Linked DNA regions of Homo sapiens: region 1 is linked to region 2. Evidence: promoter capture Hi-C in 16 types of primary human blood cells and fetal thymus (Javierre and others, 2016). All regions are on one chromosome and are shown on one strand. The core of a region is centred on a gene start or on the middle of the fragment in contact, and the rest is flanking DNA. Distances in the headings are between cores, read along the strand shown.

What was found. The method cuts DNA at HindIII sites, captures the fragments that hold promoters and counts their contacts. A CHiCAGO score of 5 or more calls a contact.
Region 1: a fragment that was not itself captured here is called in contact with the fragment with the promoter of ETS2 in region 2 in 1 of 17 cell types (monocytes); the score reaches 5.4 in monocytes.

Annotation. Positions count from the first base shown.
Region 1 is chr21:38,869,315-38,876,547 of GRCh38, reverse strand. No RefSeq gene overlaps it. Among named protein-coding and RNA genes, the nearest start is that of ETS2-AS1, 65 kb to the left of the region's middle. The HindIII fragment of the contact is 1,410 bases long and covers 3,296-4,705 here.
Region 2 is chr21:38,801,806-38,808,619 of GRCh38, reverse strand. ETS2 (ETS proto-oncogene 2, transcription factor) reads right to left here and starts at 2,691. Exons shown (of 10, transcript NM_005239.6): 1 at 2,500-2,691. RefSeq lists silencers at 1,969-2,068, 2,089-2,188, 2,299-2,588, 2,779-2,848, 2,869-3,198 and enhancers at 3,309-3,468, 3,479-3,538, 3,719-3,858, 3,392-3,892. The HindIII fragment of the contact is 4,522 bases long and covers 1,520-6,041 here.

The DNA of each region.
Region 1 (7,233 bases), core at 2,751-5,250, 67 kb before region 2:
AGCTCCTGCCTCCACAACTACAGGCCTGTAACGCTGCTCGCCCTAAGTGGTCAGTTAACACAGTGCATGGATGGTCTGGTCCACGAATGCCTTTTCCGGGCGTGTTTGACTTACAGCCATCTCTGTTCTCACTACGAAGACAGGAGAGGAGCTTCATAGAGGTGAAGTCAGTGGAAGATGCTCCAACCCTCCTTTGAACACACCTGCAACAAGGAAACCTATCTGATTTCCCCAGCTTTCCTCCCTCCTGTCTTGTGGCAGAGCAGTGCCTCCCTGCAGCTGACTTAGAGCAAACCAAACACAATTGGACCTGTTTTCACCGAGCAACTTGCAGTGTTTTGCCCAGATTCCAGCAGTGAACTCAATATCATTGGATGGGTTCATAATGCATGCATTTGTTCATACCAGGGAATTCCCTGGAAGGTTACTTGTAAAATAAATATCTTGTAAAACGGGGGAATTAATTTATCTATGTTCTTTTTCTTACTGGTTCTGTCTCCTTATAAAAATATGGAGAATGGTTATCAGGCATACATCACTTTTTCTTTTAATGGCTGGTTCAGGCTAATTAGATTCCAGGTTTCAGGTTTCGCAATGGCTGTATTTTGAAGTGTTCATGTGGCCCTGTGTGTGTTTCCTGTGGCTGGCTTAGTAAGCACCACAAACAGCTTGGCTTAAAACACCAGAAATGTATTCTCTCACGGTTCTGGAGATCAGAAATGTGAAATCCAGGAGTTGGCAGGATTGGCTCCTTCTAGTAGCTTCTATGCCTCTTCCAAGCTCCTGGTGGTTGCTGCAGTCCTTGGCATTCCTCGGCTTGTTGCTCCATCCCTCCAACCTCTGCGTTGGCCTTCACTTGGCTTCTTCCCTGTGTGTCTCTGTGTCTCTGTTTTCTTTCCTTATAGAGGACACCAGTCATTGGATTTAGGGCCCACTTTGATTCAGAATGATGTTATACTAACTCATTACATCTGTAAAGACCCTTTTTCCAAATAAGGTCCCATTCTGAGGTTCCGAAGAGGCCATGGATTTTGGAGCGATAACTATGAAACCCAGTCCAAGCACCATGCACCCAATGCTCATTTCCATCAGCCCACTTTTTGCCAGTGGGTAGAGAGATCTGCCTGTGACCACATGATAGGAAGTGGATGGATGTCAGGCCTTATGATCTGGAAGGAGAATGTCTGGATCAAGTGATGGGGAGGAGAATGAAAGCTGGAGAGCTGGTTGCCATGGTGACTCCTTCTTCAGTCTCCCAGCTTCCATAAAGTCCTGTTCCTCCTGCCATAGGCTTGGATTATTCCTGAGTCAACACGCTGTACTTTCAGGGCCTTGTGGGTGGCCAGTAGCCTTCCCTCCTCACTTGATTGTTTGGGGACCAGGGATGTGGCAGCTCTGGAGGGGGTTAGGACAGGGCTGTCTTTCAAGGAGGGTGACGATCACATGAGTCCCAGTTGAAGGAGGAGACTTGATTTGTTATTCTAGCAATGGGTAGAAGACTGGCTGGAGGCTGACTCAACATACAACAGCTCACACAGCTTTCTTGGGGCTTAGTCTTCACTGGTAAGGCCAGAGTTCTCACTGGACTTTTATGTCAACTGATGGCAAGGACTTTAAGATTTAGTGTGGTCACTAATGTATTATGGAACCTGAAGAACTGGGTGAGGGCCTTGCTCTGAAAACTGCACCTGGAGACTTCACCTAGGGCATTTTCTATGGGAGTATTTAGGTGGAACAGTCTAGTCTATGCCTAGGCAGTCCTGGGCACTCTTGCAAGTCTCAAATTTCACAACCACTGTTCCCCTTTTTCTCCTCCAGAGAGTTAACTGAGATAGCTAGGTGCTGACTTTGCCAAGGGAAAAAATGTATTTTTTTAATTCGCAGGCAATTTTATTTTATTTTATTTTTTATTTTTTATTTTTTTTTTGAGACGGAGTCTCGCTGTCGCCCAGGCTGGAGTGCAGTGGCGCAATCTCGGCTCACTGCAGGCTCCGCCCCCTGGGGTTCACGCCATTCTCCTGCCTCAGCCTCCCGAGTAGCTGGGACTACAGGCGCCCGCCACCTCGCCCGGCTAATTTTTTGTATTTTTAGTAGAGACGGGGTTTCACCGTGTTAGCCAGGATGGTCTCGATCTCCTGACCTCGTGATCCGCCCGCCTCGGCCTCCCAAAGTGCTGGGATTACAGGCGTGAGCCACCGCGCCCGGCCCCCAGGCAATTTTAATAATAAATCTTAATAGATGGGGTAAGAGCTGCCTTCATCCCATACAGAGAATACAATGGTGCTAGACTAAGTAGAGATTTTATTTCAGCTTAAAGATTCTGTTTGATGTCTGAAATTACATGTTTAGGCGGCATGGGGAACAGGACTGTTCTTTAGCATCAGTTTCACAATTACTTTAATCTACTAGGTTTCATTCACCTTATAATTCTGAAATTTCATCAGCAGTGGGAACAGAAAAGGATATTCACATGCCAGCCCCAAATTGGCTGTGATTGAAACTAATGATACAATTACAGCAATGAGTGTTTGCAACGGTTGATGATCAGGTACTGGTGTGGGATGAAATAGCAGATAAGTGGTGCTTGTGGGTGATGTGAGTCTCCATTGATCTGTTGAATTAGGTGCCTCTTCCTCTGGCATCACTGACAATTCTTGGTGGGGCCCGAAGATGGGGGTGGGTTACACTCTGGGTCAATTTCTTCTCCTCTCTCTGATGTGCTGAGGCCCATGGATTCCGTGAACAAGTGTGGGCTCTGTTTGTTCAGCCCTTGAAAAAGCTCAAGGGAAGATGTCTCCTAGGCAGTGGTAGCTCCTTCCAATTTCTGTGGTCGGAGGTTCTCCCTGCATATGGGAGCCCAGAGCCCGAGGCTCTGGATCTTCTCCCAGGAGAAGCCTGCAGTGGGCCTGATGGGCCATGGCCAAGGCTGAGCCTTCAGCTCTTTGTCCCTGCTGTGTTCCCTGAGAAGGCTTGGAAGTAGGGCAAAAGCCATGCACTCCTCTACAGCCCCACAGAGGGAGTATCAGGACAATGGAAAGGGAGTGATTCCCCCAGAGGAAGAATGCCTTGTGGACTCACACAGAGGAAGTTTGTTATGACTTTGATACTTGGAAGGCATGAGCCCAGTTGTAGCTGTGAGCTGTCTGACCTTATTTGTTGCGATGGACTCCACTGTGACTCTGGACAGAGCATTCTATTGAAGACAGTTTGCATATCAGCCGGATTATTATAAAATATACCAATAAGATTCTTCCTCCTGAAAGTGGCAGAAACTCAGATCAAACTGCCTTAAGCTTCTAAGGGGACTCATTGACTTGGGTAATTGAGCGCATTAGCGTATGGCGCTTTATGGATAGCTGGATCCAGAGTCACAGATGCTATCAGGATTCTTTCTCTTTCTTTTAGCTCTACTACTTTCTCTGCAATAGGTTAGTTCTCCAAAAGGAACAAGACGGCCACTGGAGCCCCAGGATTACAGGATCCTTTGTGTTTGGGATCTTATGGAATCCTGGACCTGCTTGGGTCACGTGCCCACTTCTGTGCTGAGGAGTTGGAAGTCATTTTCAGGTTGAGGAGGGCATCCCCAGAAAGCCAGAGAAGGGGGCAGAAATGCAGGTGAGCTCAACACCAGGCCTCCGCTACCGAATGTCAGGACACCAGCCTTCCTGAAGGGACATGTTAGGTGGACACCCAGTGAGAACCTATGATAGCAACCAGCAGCAGTTGGAGGAGGGCTGGGTGCGGCAGCTCACGCCTGTAATACCAGCACTTTGGGAGGCCGAGGTAGGCGGGTCACTTGAGCCCGGGAGTTTGAGAACAGCCTGGGCAACATAGTGAGACCACATCTCTACTAAAAAAATAAAGAAAAATTAGCTGGGTGTGATGGTGTGTATTCATCATCACTGCTATGAAGAACTCCTGAGACTGGGTAATTTATGAAGAAAAGAGGTTTAATTAACTCAAAGTTCCATAGGCTGTACAGGAAAGATGACTGAGAGGCTTCAGGAAACTTACAATCATGACAGAAGGTGAAGGAGAAGCAAGGACATTCCTCACAAGGTGGCAGGAGAGAGGGGGTGGGGGGAAGTGCCACACACTTTTAAGCCATCAGATCTCATGAGAACTCACTCACTATCTCGAAAATAGCAACGGAGAAATCTGCCCCCATGATCCAATCACCTCCCACCAGGCCCTTCCCCTAACACTGGGAATTACAATGCAACATGAGATTTGGGTGGGGACACAGAGACAAACCACACCACAGTGCATGCCTGTAGTCCCAGCTACTTTGGAGGCTGAGGCAGGAGGATTGTTTGAGCCTGGGAGTTCAAGGCTGCATTGCATTCCAGTATCCTGGGTGACAGAGCGAGATTGTATCTCAAAAGAAAAGAAAAAGAAAAAGAAAAAGTTGGAGGAAAAAAAAATTTAATAGCAGAAAAAATAGGAGTCTTCATACTGACAGCCTCACAACTCAGAGAACTTGAAAAATGTTATGTAGACAATGGCAATAAAGGGCTGACACGTCCCTGTGCACTGGTGAACACAGAACCTTCTTGAGGCTGTGCCCTTCAGCTTCGTTTGGAATTTGACATTTTAAAAAACACTCCACCCACAGGTTTCCTTTGAGAGACTAGAGTGTCTTTGAACTTAATATTCAGGTAAATAAAAAGACCACTTGGAAGAAAATTATCTCCTCTGAAAAGCTTGTCACTTAACACTTGTTTATTAGGAGAACTACAAAAAAGTCAGCAAAATGGCAGAATTCTTCTCTGACATTTAAAGCTTTCCATGTGGTTTGCCACTGAGAACAAGGTGTATGTTCTTTTCAATTGCCTAAATCTTGCTGCCCCAGCTGGGAACTTTGCTGCAGAATCCAGAGAAGTGACTCTTCAGGGTCTGAGAATGAACTTGGATGGAAAAAAATACGTTTTTATTTTTACTAATTTCCAACAGATATCAAGCATTTTATTCAACTATGGAATGGAAGCAACAGATTACAGCAGCATTAACAAGACCTGGGATACCATCACCAATCAAAATCATGGATATTTCATAGCACAAGAACGTTGTTTCAGAATCTCAAAGTACTCCTCCTACTCAACATGACTTTGAAATTGCAATAGTTGTTAGAACGGTCACTGCAGTTTGATATATGATGTGTTTACAAAGAGGCACATATATTGCTCTTTCAGAATTATAACTCTGTATGCATTTCAATGTAATTGGTTTCCTTTGTCATCTTCTGAATTTTATGTATTTAAAAATATTATTCTGATGTTAATACACAACAAAGAAAGGATAGAATTTTCAATAAATGGTGTTGGGGAAATTGGATATCCATATACAAAAAATAAAAATAAAATTGGATTCTTATCTTAAACCCTACACAAAAATTAACTCAAAATGGATTAAAGACATAGACATAAGACCTGAAACTTTAAAATTACTAGAAGAAAACATAGGGGATGACACTGGTCTGGGCAATAACTTTTTGGATATGACACTAAAAGTACAAGCAACAAAAGCAAAAATAGACAAACACAATTACATCAAGCTAAAAAAGCTTTCACACAGTAAAGCAAGCAATCAACAGAGTAAAGAGACTCTGTTGCAACCTACAGATGCAACTTACAGAATGCAAGAATGTATCTGTCAACCATACAGCTGAGAAGGATTTAATATCCAAAATATACAAGGAACTCAGCTCAATAGCAAAAACAAAAAACAACAACAAACCAAAACCAACTCACATATAACTCAGCTAACAATGGGCAAAAGATCTGAATAAATATTTCTCAAAGGAAGATATACGAATTACCAATGGGAATATGAAAAGATGCTCTACACCACTAATCATCAGGAAAATGCAAATTAAAACCACAATGAGATACCACCTCACACCTGCTAGAATATCTATTATCAAAAAGATAAGTGATAACAAACGTTGGTAAGGCCATGTAGAAAATGGAACCCTTGTACACTGTTGATGGGAATATAGATTGCTACAATCATTATGAAAAACAGTATGGAAATTCCTCAAGATACTAAATATAGAACTACCATATGATCCAGCAATCCCACTTCTGGGCATATATTTAAAGGAAATGAAATCAGTATCTTGAAGAGGTATCTGGACTCATATGTTTATTGCAGCATTATTCACAATAGCCAAGATACGGAATCAACCTTAGTGCTTAGTGTCCATTGATGGATGAATGGATGAAGAAAATGTGATACACACACACACACAAACACACACACACATGCACGCACACACAGGGATATTATTCAGTCTTTAACAAGAAGAAGATTCTGCCATTTGCAACAACATGGGTGGACCTGGAGGACATTATGCTAAGTGAAAGCAAGCCAGACACAGAAAAACAAACACTGCACAGCATGATCTCACTCATATGTGGAATCTAAGAAGGTTGGACTCAGAAACAGAGCAGAAGGCTGGTTACCAGAGGTGGCAGTAGGGATGACAGTGGGAAATTAGGAGAGGTTGGTTAAAGGATACAGACTTTTAGGTATAAAATGAATAAGGTCCTCAGAGCTAACGTACGGCACAGTGACTGTGTTAATAATAATGTATTTTAGATTTGAAAATTGCTAAGAGAGTAGATCTTCAGTACTCTCACCACAAAAAAAGGTTGAACTATGTGAAGTGATAGATAACATTAATTAGCTTGATTGTGGTCATCATTTCACAATGGATATATGCATCAGAGCTTCATGTTGTACATCTATATTCCATTTTTATTTTTTCAATTATAACTCAGTAAACCTAGAAAAAAATAATAATATCACTCTGAAAAGTGGTCTGCAGGTTTCACTAGCTTCTGAAGGGGGCTGTGGCACTTCCTAGATGCTGGGCACTATTCTATGGTTTTCCATATATTATTAAGTGAATCCTCACAGTCACATTATGAGGTATGTATTAATAATTAAGATAAAAAAACTGAGGGTCACAGAGTAGATAAATTCCCCAAGGATAAAGCCAGTAAGTGGCATAGTTGGCACTGAAATCTAGAAATCCAAGCCCCTAAGCTTTTTGCACCTCTCCTTGGTGAGGTAACAACCTTGTCATGGTCCAGTGAAGAGGCAGCGCCCAGCCCTGTCCCAAGCCCAGTGCTTCCTTCCCCCCAGTGCTTCCTTCCCCAAGTAATGTTCACAAAGAGTCCCAAAGTGAGCAGATGTCCCAGGGCCAACTGAGGGGCCCCAAGTCACACT
Region 2 (6,814 bases), core at 1,442-3,941:
CAACACACACACACACACACACACACACATACACACACACCCCTCTTGGCTAAAAGGCAGCAGGTGAGGCCAGAGGCATCAGAAAATTCTGTTAAAACACTCGGAGTGCAGGTAATGATCATGGTAGCCAACAAAGGCTGGTCAGCACTGGCAATAAATAATAGTCCTATGAGAGGACAGAGAGGGGCAGCAGTCTTGGGTCCAAAGTGGCCACATTCACTCAGAATCTCCACTTGGTGGATTATGCCACTTATATTCACTCAACAATCAATAGTCTCTCCTATTGATGGCTGCCATTGCCAGAATGCCTAGTTACTAAGAGCTAAGCCCCGTGCTGGGGGACCATCCACTCCTACCTAATTGAATCTTCCTGCATCCCTGAGAGGCAGACGTCATACAGTGAAGCAACGGAGGCCCAGCAACATGGACAATCTGCCCAGGATCCACATAGCTACCAGAGGGGCCACCGCAGGGCAAAGTGGAGATCAAACCCCAGTTGAGTATGGTCCTAAATCCTGAGTCCTCCACACAGTCCTCTGTGCCGGGAGAACATGAATGATGAGGAATGGACCCTTCCCACCCATCCTGATATTATCAGATCAGGCCCTTCTCACTACTCCTTCCAATGTGAAATGCTCCTTCCTCTAGAGCTTTATGTCATTTCTCTGCATGAAATAAGTCCTGGTAGCTGCTGATTAAAGAAATAAACAAGCCTCAAACAGAAGGCCAAAATCATAGACATCTTGGGTGTTGCCAGTTATCCATCCAGAGCCGGATGGGTCAGCTCTTTTTCTTCCTTAGGCTTGCAGACTGCTTGCTGACTTGATTCTGTTTTTCAGCTTCTCTGAGATGGACAGAGAATGAATGTGGAAGGCAGTGGAAAAGCTCTCCCCAGCTTTTGTGTACAAATACCAGGAGAAAAGGCAGCCTACCACTCCCACATAAAGAGCTGTAATTACTAGCTACAGAATAGAATTCTTTTGTTGTCCAGCTTTTAATGAGTTTTGTAAAAACCATGCAGAATTAAAGTGCTCTACTAAATGGTTTCAGGCAGACACACAACTAATCAAATTTAAGCTTGCTTATTTTACTCAACAGGGCTTGTTAGATGGCAGACAAGCCAAGTTTTTCCACATAAATCAATTTCAAGTTTGGTGTTGCTGATGGATCGCTGCTTTTAAACCAAAAAAAAAAAAAAAAAAGGATAAAGAGCAGAAATGTAACAGCTGAGAATGGTTACATTTAAAAACAAGGAGAATTTGCCTGACAACAGTACCCTTATTGGAACAAGTAATCACTTATGTAAGATTATTTAGATAAATTTGAAAACAAACAAAAAAAAGAAACAACACAACCTTGTAACACACATTTGAAGGTAGTTTGCTTTTTTCGCTTTGAAAGCGATCAGTTTAGAGAGATGAATGACTAATCCCAGAAATGAGTATCTGAGCATTTCCCTGCGGATGGTCGGTGCTAACATTTACTGTGCTGCGCTACTACTCAGAATTTTAATAAAGCTTAACGTGGAGATTTATCTCTCTGATTGGTGGTGGTGTGGGCAGGCAGATAACGCACAGGCGCTTCCATTGTATGGAACAAATATAATCTCTTACTGGCGAATTAAAATAAATTACTCCTGTCTCCAAAGGGGACTGCTCATTTCTTTACTTTCTAAATAACTAGCGCGTCAACTACTGTTTTAGGCTACCCTGAAATTGTGTACAGGCTAACATAAAAGGTCTCCTGCCGTAAAAAATAAAATAGGATAACACACACGCAACCCAAACACACACAAGCAAACACTCAGTTACCTCTTCATTCAAATGCTGTAGGAACGAGAAAATAAAGGCAGCCCAGCGCAACCAGATCTCATTTCCGACAGGTTCCCCACGCTCTCCTCGCACGACCGAGGGGTCCCCAGCCCGGGCCCTGGACGCGGCGAGCAGGTGACCATGGCACCCCGCGCCCCGCAGGTTCCCGCGGTGCCGCAGCCTTCAGGTGTCTTGGGCGCCCCAGATCCTCCGGGCCCGGCGCCGCTCCAGGAAGTCACCCTCAAAGCCGGGGCGCCAGGCCACCTCGGACACGCTCTCCTGTGCCCCCACTCCCGTTCGCGAAATCATGTTCGCCGGGACATCCACTGGGCAGGACCCCCTACCAGGCCTGCGTTTCCTTTTAAAAACAAAAGCGAGCGAAACAAGCCAGCGCGCCCTGGCCGCGCCCGCCGCTAGGCGACCCCGAAGACAGCGGCCCTAGCACGCAGGAACCCCCCGGCCGACCCCGCCAGCCCCGGAGGCCACTCCATAACCGGAAAACGAGCCGGCGCGGAACTCAGACGCGCGCCCCTAGAGTCCTCGCAGCAGCCGCCACCCCCACCTGCACCCCCGGCAGCGCCCCGAGATCTGCGTGTCAGTGCCCCCCGCGACCCCCGCCCAGGCCCCGGGTGACCCTCCATGGGACTGGAGCCGCGCGCCGGGCGCTCTCTGCGGGCCCAGCTCTTACCCTGCCGCTGCGGGCAGGGCCGGCGCTTGGTCGGGACGGTGGCTGCTCGGCGCCCGCGGCTGCTCGGTGCGCGCCGGGCGAGGGCGAGGGCGCCGGCCAGAGACGATCAGGGAGGCCGGACGCTGGCCGGGCGGCTCCGGGAGCTCTGAGCTGGAGCGACACCGCACTCGTCAGTCTCTGGAGGAAGTAACCGGGCCGTCCCCCACGCGGCGCGCTCTTCAGGAGCGGGAGGAGGAGGGAGGAGGGAGGAGGAAGGAGGGACGGCCGAGTGGAGGGGAGGGGAGGAAACGAGGGAGGAGAGAAGAGAGAGGGGAGGGAAGGGGAGGAGAGAGAAGAGGAGGGGAAGGGAGGTAGGCAGGATGGGGAGAAGCGGGAGGAGAGGGAAGGGGGCAGCAGGAGGGTTGGGGGAGCGGAGGGAGAGGAGAGGGAACGCACGAGGGGAGAGAAGAGGAGGGCGGAGGCGGCGAGGGAGCGCGGGGCGGGGCTGACACCTTCCGGCCCAACCTTCCCTCCGCCTCCTGCTGTCACTCGGCTGGGTCCCTCGCCGGCTGGCCCTGAGGCCCCGGGAGCAGGGCCTCGGCCCCACGTGCGCGCGAGTGTGCGCCCTGGGAGCCGGGCGGAGACTTTCCGTGGAGCGCTCGGCGTCCTCTCTGGGGCCAAGGCCCTAACGCCAAACCTGCCTTTGGAATTCCGCAGCGACGGAGCAGTGGTGCTGGTGGCACCGAAGGGCAGCCGGGCTTGGGTAATAAGGCCCTGAAATTGAGCCGACCCCATTCTTGAACCTCTGAATGGGCTTAGGACTAATGATCATTCTATCACAAAAAGGCTCCAAATGAGGCGCTTCCTGTAGAAACCGGGCCCTGGCTGTGTCCCCGAGTCGTGGTGCTGATCGCGCTGCTCCCGGGAAGCCCCGATCCCGCAGGCTCCGCGGGAGTGGCGCCCTCTGGAGCTGAGCGGTGCCCAGATAGCGACCCGCCTTGGCCGCGCTTCAATCTGGGCTGGGCACTCCACGCACATCATCGTCACTCTCGGAGGACTTGCGGCTCCCACTTTACACAGGTGGGAACTGAACCTTAGGATGAATAACCTGCCACGTCAGATTGATGAGAAATTCAAGGTGGAAACCTGAGTTTATCTGACTCCGAAACCCTGGTCAAAACCACCCCCTACACTGTGGTTTCCGTTTTTATCAGAAGGTGCTTGAGTCCATGGCTGTTTGGACTCAGGTCACATGCTCAATATTTTGCAGGAAAGTTTAGATTCCTGAAGTTGTGGATGAAATAGGAAACCCCAGCTTAGGCGAGGCCACGGGGCTGAAAGCTGCTCACATCTCAAGAACTGCGGCACCACCGGGAAGGGAGAGGAATGGCCCAGCTTCTCTGTGACTCAGGGTTCTAGGTTTCCATGGTGACTCTAGGTCTAGAGTTATCCGGATAATTGAGATATCGGTGCACCTTAATGTTTCTGGGTCCCCGAAGGTCTCCGGGTATCACCGTGGCATGAGTCACAGTCAGAATCTATACGGCTGAAACAATCACGTATAGGGGAAGTGATTATTTCTTGGAGACTGAATTGATTCTGATGGCTTCTCAGTGTATATTCAGGCCCAGATTAGAGAACACAGATAGGTCAAGAAAGAGTTCCATAAATGGAATACAGATCCATAGTAAGTTACCATGGAGACATGAGTATGTTACTATTTTTTTAAAAAACCGTAGCAGAAAATACTGACTCATCTGGGCTGCAGTTTCAGCTAATATAGGGTCTTTCTCCCTCAGGCTACTTGCACAGCCCTGAGAAGCTGGGTATAGACAGCTGCTCCCCAAAGCTCAGCTACTTCCCGAAGCTCACTTGCCCCAAGCAGACTGCCTTGTCCCACCATGCCTGCCCTCGTGTTCATGGGTGCTGAGTGCCAGGTGCTCCAGGGCTCCCTGAGTCGCTGATGGGCTCCCTGAGTGGAGCCATATTTCCTCTTTGCAGGGCTGGCACAGGCTGGGGGCTAGGAGGTGGTGCTTTGCTCATGCTGGGCTGTTTCCAACATATATGAGCAGAAAGATATCAAAAGAGGAGCACAGGAGTTTGAAGACCACCGGTTCCCGACAGTGGAACCTTCCTCTGCTCACTAACCTTGGGCCTCCTCTACAGAATAAGGGATGATTATGGAACCTACGTCCTTAAGACTATGGCAAATGACATAGAACCAAATGTGCAGAATATGTTAGAGTGTTGAGTACATGGTAGAGAAGGACTCAAAATGATCTAGCTATTAAGAATCTTTTTCCAAGCTCTCCTCAGGGAGGATTTTATAGAAAACATTTTGAAAAAACTATCATATACACGAAAAAAAAAAAAAAAGTCCTGCCCCTCGCGGGTTTAAATGTGTGAAAGCCTTGGGAAAGGGATCCCGGCCGGAAGACCAAATGGCAGAGCTAAGACGGCAGGGAGGCTGTGGGAAGAGGAAGCTGGGCCTGTGTGCTGGGGTCATCGTAAGCCTAAGCTCCTGCCTCCCACCCAGGTCCCTGGTCCTCCCTATTTCCCCTTCCAAAGAGTCTGAGGCTGCCCCAAGCAGCCCCCTTGCCCTGGGTCCTGCCCTGTAGCTGATCCACCTCTGCACGAGGGCAGTCACATGTTCATAATAAAATGGCTTATCCTAGTTCTGGGGCAATATCAGGGTTCCTTACATTTTTGTCCTTAATACTAGTTGGCTTGCCAGTTACTCAGCAGAATTAAAAAGCAGTCTGGCTGAAGCCAGTGATTATTCATTGACTGTTATCGTGCGATTCACAGGGAACAATGAGCTTTACAGTAAATTAAACCTAATAAATAAAAGTATAGCCCTTGTGCTTGGAGATCAAAAGTCGAGGGTGTTGGAAGGAAATTAAAAGTCAGAAGGTGCACAGGGTGGAGTGATCAGATGCGCTATGGCAGACTGAGTTATGAGCAATGTTAACACTTTCCCCTTAAGAAAGAGGGACATTCACAGAAGAGAGGAGGAAAAGGGATATTACAGTAGAATATATGTGTTACGAACATGAAATATCTAGAGAGTAAAATGCAGAAAAAGAATTCTTTAGAATCCAGACATAATTATGAGAAATGATTAGCTAGCTTACGAAGTCATCCTTTGAAAAAAAACACACACAAAAACGTCTCCTTAGAAACATGTCTGTATTTACCTTAAAATCCAAATCAGTAGTCAACAGGCAGTTTGTGGTGGTTTCCAGTTGCAAGTTAAACAGACGTCATTTGGTCCGAAGTGCATCATTCATTCACTTAGCAAACACAGAGTCAGATGCTGAGAAGACAAATATGATTAAGGCTTAGTTAGTTCCCGCCCTCAAGAAGTAAAAGTGAAGTGCACAGTTCAGTTAAAATCACATGCACAGTGAGACTTTGGTAAGGAGTGGAGGAAGAAAAGAATGAACCTAGAGATAGAAATCATTTCCTCATGTGTAAGCTGCCGCCTGCATCTGGCCTGCTGGGGTGTCTGGCAGTGGTGGCTATTTCACTGATATATGTTGGGGTCAAGGACTTGATAAGCTTAACCCACACTTCCGCCCACCTCCGAATCCAACCAACCTTGCCCATTTGCAGGCTGGCCCAGCTACCAAGAATCCTAGGCAGATGTGGGGCCGTGGAGCTGCCTCCTGCTCCATCAGGGTGGACCCAGATTATGCAAGAGTTGGCCAGTGTCTAGTCTTTTCTGTGAGATTCCTTGGAATGGCAGATAGGGTATTCTGCTGGTGGTCAAAAACGTTGCTAATGCTCCTTTCTAATTCCTTCTGCTCCTTGTCAGCCTCCTTTGTCCCTTGCACTCCCTGTGGGCATGAAGACATGGTTACCCAGCTAGGGCTACCGTCTTCACCTCTGAAGGGCAGCCTGTGGGCCCAGACTGCCTGGGGTCAAATCCCGCCCAGCCATTCCCTAGCAGGCCACCTGTGGGCCCCTCGGGGCCTCCCTCTGTTAATGTCTCCCAAGCACTTAGAACAGTGTCTGGCGTGTCATTAAGTGTGTGATAAATAAGTAGCAGGTCCCCTGGCCCTGGAAGTCTTGGTCTCCTGCGGGCATCGCTGATCACTGCTGCCCTGCACTGGCACTTTTGGTTGACAACAAGGTATAAAATCAATCCCAGTGCTGTCAATGGGAACCATGGTGTCTTTGACTATGTTTTTCTTGCCTTTGGTGGTCAGAAACGAGAAAATGAAACATTGGATTTTAAAACTGGAAAAAACTTCAGAGAGCTGATGGCTCAGACCAACTCTGGTTTGTAAGATGCAGAAACTGAGACCCAGGGAGGATCAATTCCTTGCCCAGG